Linked DNA regions of Homo sapiens: region 1 is linked to region 2. The links are contacts of gene promoters, found by promoter capture Hi-C in blood cells and fetal thymus (Javierre and others, 2016). All regions are on one chromosome and are shown on one strand. Each heading gives the region's core, a stretch centred on a gene start or on the middle of the fragment in contact. The rest is flanking DNA. Distances are from core to core; before and after follow the strand shown.

Evidence for each region. The method cuts DNA at HindIII sites, captures the fragments that hold promoters and counts their contacts. A CHiCAGO score of 5 or more calls a contact.
Region 1: a fragment that was not itself captured here is called in contact with the fragment with the promoter of BRD4 in region 2 in 1 of 17 cell types (M2 macrophages); the score reaches 5.2 in M2 macrophages.

Annotation. Positions count from the first base shown.
Region 1 is chr19:15,154,856-15,157,555 of GRCh38, forward strand. No RefSeq gene overlaps it. Among named protein-coding and RNA genes, the nearest start is that of MIR6795, 23 kb to the right of the region's middle. The HindIII fragment of the contact is 3,609 bases long and covers 1-2,700 here.
Region 2 is chr19:15,331,118-15,333,880 of GRCh38, forward strand. BRD4 (bromodomain containing 4) reads right to left here and starts at 1,422. Exons shown (of 20, transcript NM_001379291.1): 1 at 1,173-1,422. LOC124904643 (a long non-coding RNA gene) reads left to right here and starts at 1,496. Exons shown (of 4, transcript XR_007067146.1): 1 at 1,496-1,531. RefSeq lists silencers at 422-471, 482-631, 662-761, 962-1,191, 1,422-1,521 and 1 more and an enhancer at 1,688-2,304. The HindIII fragment of the contact is 24,183 bases long and covers 1-2,763 here.

The sequences.
Region 1 (2,700 bases), core at 16-2,515, 180 kb before region 2:
TGAGAACAGCATACTCGGCATTTTAACATCTCTGGTCTTCTCCCCCACTCTCCAGCTCCGTGGTCGTCTTGAAAAATACCAGCCCAAACTCTGGTGCAGCCTGGCATCCACCAGAGAGAGCAAAACAGAACTAGAGCACTTTCAAGCCTCATTCCCAAAGAATTGTCATTATTTTTTAAATTTTATTTATTTATTTATTTATTTATTGAGATGGAGTCTCTCTCTCTCTGTCGCCCAGGCTGGAGTGCGGTGGTGCAATCTCAGCTCACTGCAACCTCCGCCTCCCAGGTTCAAGCAATTCTCCTGCCTCAGCCTCCCAAGTAGCTGGAATTACAGGCATGCACCACCACGCCTGGCTAATTTTTGTATTTTTAGTAGAGACAGCGTTTTACCATGTTGGCCAAGCTGGTCTCAAACTCCCGACCTCAAATGATCTGCCCACCTCGGCCTCCCGAAGTGCTGGGATTACAGGTGTGAGCCACCACACCCGGCCAAGAATTGTCATTATTTACCAAGCTAATGGTTCCCTGCAAGATCCCACTGGCAAAGCTCTCTGTATTTGACCTGGCTCTGAGATAAACCATGCAAAAAGCCTTCACTCTGGGGGTCCTTTGTTGACAACAGCTACAGGAAGGTATTTTAGCTTCATGGATGCCTGAGGCAGTGAGTGACAGTTGAGACAAATAGACTAAACCAAAAGCTAGGGAAGGAGCTGTCTATAGAGGCTTTGAAAGGCTCAGATAAGGCTGGGTGCAGTGGCTTATGCCTGTAATCCCGGCACATTGGCAGGCCAAGGAGGGTGGATCACGAGGTCAGTAGTTCAAGACCAGCCTGCCAACATGGTGACCCTGTCTCTACTTAAAAATACAAAAATTAGGCCAGGCTCAGTGGCTCATGCCTGTAATCCCAGCACTTTGGGAGGCTAAGGCAGGCAGATCACCTGAGGTCGGGAGTTCGAGACCAGGCTGACCAACATGAAGAAACCCCATCTCTACTAAAAATACAAAAATTAGCCAGGCGTAGTGGTGCATGCCTGTAATCCCAGCTACTCAGGAGGTTAAGGCAGGAGAATTGCTTGAACCCAGGAAGCGGAGGTTGCAGTGAGCCAAGATCACGCCATTGCATTCCAGCCTGGGCAACAAGAGTGAAACTCCATCTCAAAAAAAAAAAAAAAAAAAAAGAGAAGAGGCCGGGCACAGTGGCTCACGCCTGTAATCCCAGCACTTTGGGAGGCCAAGGCGGGCGGATCACGAGGTCAGGAGATCGAGACCATCCTGGCTAACATGGTGAAACCCCATCTCTACTAAAAATACAAAAAATTAGCCAGGCGCGGTGGTGGACGCCTGTAGTCCCAGCCACTTGGGAGGCTGAGGCAGGAGAATGGCATGAACCCGGGAGGCAGAGTTTGCAGTGAGCCGAGATCTCGCCACTCCACTCCAGCCTGGGAAATAGAGCAAAACTCCGTCTCAAAAAAAAAAGAAGAAGAAAGATTGGTAGATGGATGGAGAGAAAGATATATAAATGATAGATGATAGAAAAATAGAAAGATTCATAGATATAAATAGACAACAGAGGACAGAGAAGCATAAGATAGATATAGACGGATGAAAGATAAACGATAGATGATAGACATAGATAGATAATAAATAAATGATTGACATTCTAGACAGATGAGGCATGCGCAGAATGTAGGCAAGGAATGTTACTATACCTTGGGGCTCACAATGGTGGAGAGCCTTTATCGCTTCTATGCCAAAAGGGCCAAGCAGAGGAAACAATAACCCAGACCCACAGAGGGTAGGTAGCTGGAGGGAGAGCACTGCAGGTACCCTGCAGGCAGGGAGCCAGGGAGACAAATACATTCCACCCTCTAATCCCTCACCTGTGTCTCTCATTGGCCAAACCCAAGTGGAAGCCAGAGAGTAAGGAAACCCATTGATGCCATCTACCTGGGTCATTCTCCCAGAGCACAGAGAAGAGTTGAGGAAGATCAGTGCAGATCTGGAGGCAAAAAGCAGACACTCAGCTGTTTTATCATTGTCCTTTCAGTCAAAAAACCAACTAGGATGTCAATTCCAAAGTCCCCAACCCTTCCCAACTTCAGCATGCCAATGAAATCACATACATATGAATCCTTGAATCTCATTAGTTAATTTTCCTCCATCACCAGTGCAGGCTTCCTAGTCCTCAACCTAACATCCTTTCTGCAATCATTCCAGGGAGCTCCCAGTGTGGGTGAGTCTCACATGTGCTTACAAATAAGTCAGCTCCACCAGGTACGAAAGTGGGTTCCCGCTGTGGGACACTCTTCTTCAATATTCTGTTGACATGAAGCCAAGGTTGCATGATAGAGTGGACAAAATGGGTAGGGAGAAGGACTTTCTCCTCATTTGTACAGCACTTGGGAAGAAGAATACCCAAACTTGCTTAAGCCCCAGTAGATATTTTATTTTTTATTCCCAAGAATCTACTCATGCATAAAGCTAAGATGGACTTCTCTTGGGCCAATGATTCAAGTGCAAGGAATTTATTCGCAAGATCATTCCAGAAAGCTCTAGTAGGAGTGAGGAAGAGTAGGTTGCTGCTGTGGGCAACTGGGGCTTAATCCCAAAGAGCATCCTTTGGGAGACTCTGTGGATCATATCCATGAATTCCCACAGAGAGTGGCGAGGAAGCTGGGGTATTTATCCACCATCTCTC
Region 2 (2,763 bases), core at 172-2,671:
GGCTGCACGAAACGTAAACAAGTAAACAAGCAAATAAAAATCTTAAAAAAACAAAGCGTAGTCTTGAGTAAAAGGGAGGTCAGCCACCCAGGAGAAGCACATGACTCATGCACCGGCCTGAACTAAAGTATTTACACCGTCCACTACAACAGAGTGGGGTTTCCCATCTTCAAGCAAACCCAAGCCTTGGGGGCATCTCAGCCGAGTGAAGCCATGCTATTTCCGTTTGGGAGGAGGGGGATCATTTTATTTCGCTGAATCACAACTCCCCCACATCCCCACCCCAAATCACCACAATCACCACCACCACACAACACTGCAAATAAAATAGGCCGTTGCAAGGACGCCGGCGAGCACGGACCGAGCAAAACAAAGCGCCCAGCAAGGGGCTGCCAGGCTGAGAGTGGGTGCGTCAAGCGGGCCAAGCTCGCCTCCAGGGCACCGCTCCCGCCCTGAGGCCTGGCCTCAGACCGGCGTGCAGCCGCAGCCACCTCCCTCCGCAGGGGACCTGCCCCTTTCTCCGCAGCACTCCGGGGACCGCCGGGAAGGTGAAGAGATGGGGGTGGGGGCGCGCTGCCCCGGCCCAGGCAAAACGACCTGGGTGCCAGAAGGAGAGCGCGCCGGCCCCGGCCCACGTGAGCGCCGCGGCCGAGCCCGCCTAGAGGACCGCGGACCGGGACAGCTGCGCTCGCGGCCCCCGCGCCAGGCCGGGACTTACCCGGGCCGGGCGCGCCGCGGACCCCGCGGCGGCCGCTTCCTCCTCCTCCTCCTCCTCCTCACTTAACAAAATGGCGGCGGCAGGAAGTGCCGGGCGCCTCGGCCCGCCCCCCGCCCGCCCCCGACCGCCGGCCCCGCCGCGGCGCCCGCGCCCCCCACCCGCGCCCCGCCGGCCAGCCCAAGCCCGGGTCCGACGGCACCAAAGGCAGGACAGCCGCGAGCGACCCCGCCGCCCCGACACCAACGGCGCAGGCCGCCCCGGCCCGGAACGAACGGCGCGGGAGGCCCGCAGGCCCGAGCCCGCGTAGCCCCGGCCTCCCCGCCCCCGCGCCGCGCGGATGGCGTAGGTGGCGGCGCCCCGGCCCCATTACGCAATGCAGGTTACGCGGACCGCGCCGCGAGCCTCCGCCAGCCGCCCAGTGTCGTCCGCCGCCCCAAAGGGCACCAGTCCTCACCTGAGACGCTAGGCCGCACGCCGCCCCCGCCGGCCGTCCGCCCGCTGCCGCCGCCCCCTCCCCGAGCTGCCTGCGCGGCGCCGGGGCCCGCCCGCCGCTCTGCCGAGCTCACAGGCCGCGCTCGCCCGCGGGCACCGCCGGCAGCCGCCGCAGCCGCTGCCGCCGCCACTGCTTCGGCTCCTCGGCTGCGGGAGACCAGAACAAACAGCCCAGCCGCCGCCGCCGCCGCCGCCGCCGCCGCCAGCGCACTGACGTCACCGCGCACGCTGCGCGCGCGGCCCCGCGCCGCCGCCGCCCGGTGTGCGCGCCCCGCCCCCGCGCCCAGCGCGAACGAGCTCTGGAGAGACAGTGGCTGCGAGGTGAGTGGGGGATACCGCGGACTGAGGGAGGAGACCCCGCAGAGCGAAGGAGCGGGCTGGGGGAAACGGGCGGACTGCAGGCTGGGCCTGCGGGAAAAGATCTGAAGGCTGAGAGAGACATCCAAAATACTAAGAAAGGTCTGAAGACAGACCCTCACAGGGAGGGAGGATGGTGAGGAGGGACCCCACAGACTGATGGAGGAGGCGGAGGAGAGAGCCCTAAGGGGGGACCCCAGGTAGGGAGGCTGAGGCGAGAGAGCTGCGATGGGGGCGCCGGGGCTGGGGTGAAGTGGAGGAAAGGAGGTGAGAGGAGGCTGCGAGCAAGGCCGAGGCGGATCCTCCTTGGCTGCCCCTGGGCAGGGAGGTAGCACCTTTCTCCTCTTATGCCCCCCTGTTGATCTTCTTCCAACCCACCTTTTTAAAAAAAGGGACATGGTCTTGCTCTGTCCCCCAGGCTGGAGTGCAGTAGTGCAGTCATAGCTCACTGCAGCCTCAACCTGCTGGCCTCAAGCGATCCTCCTGCTTCAGCCTCCCAAGTAGCTGGGACTACAGGTGTGCACCACCACACCCAGCTAACTATTTTTTGTAGAGATGGGATCTCACGATGTTGGCCAGGCTGGTCTCTGTCTCCTGGACTCAAGCGATCCTCCTGCCTCGACCTCCCAAAGTGCTAGTATTACAGGCGTGAGCCACCGCGCCCAGCTCCTTCCCATCCTTAAGACTCAACCCCAAGTCAGACCAGGCTCGGTGGCTCACACCTGTAATCTCAGCACTTTGGGAGGCAGAGGCAGGAGGTTGGCTTGAGGCCAGGGGTTGGAGACCATCCTAGCCAACAGAGTGAAACCTCGCCTCTACTAAAAATACAAAAATTAGCCCCGTGTGGGCCGGGCGCAGTGGCTCACGCCTGTAATCCCAGCACTTTGGGAGGCGGGCAGATCACGAGGTAAGGAGATCGAGACCATCCTGGCTAAGACGGTGAAACCCCGTCTCTACTAAAAATACAAAAAATTAGCCGGGTGTGGTGGTGGGCGCCTGTAGTCCCAGCTACTCGAGAGACTGAGGCAGGAGAATGGCGTGAACCCGGGAGGCGGAGCTTGCTGTGAGCGGAGATCGCGCCCCTGCACTCCAGCCTGTGCGACAGAGCGAGACTCCGTCTCAAAAAAAAAAAAAAAAAATTAGCCGGGTGTGGTGGCGCATGCCTGTAATCCCATGCCTGTAATGCCAGCTACTCA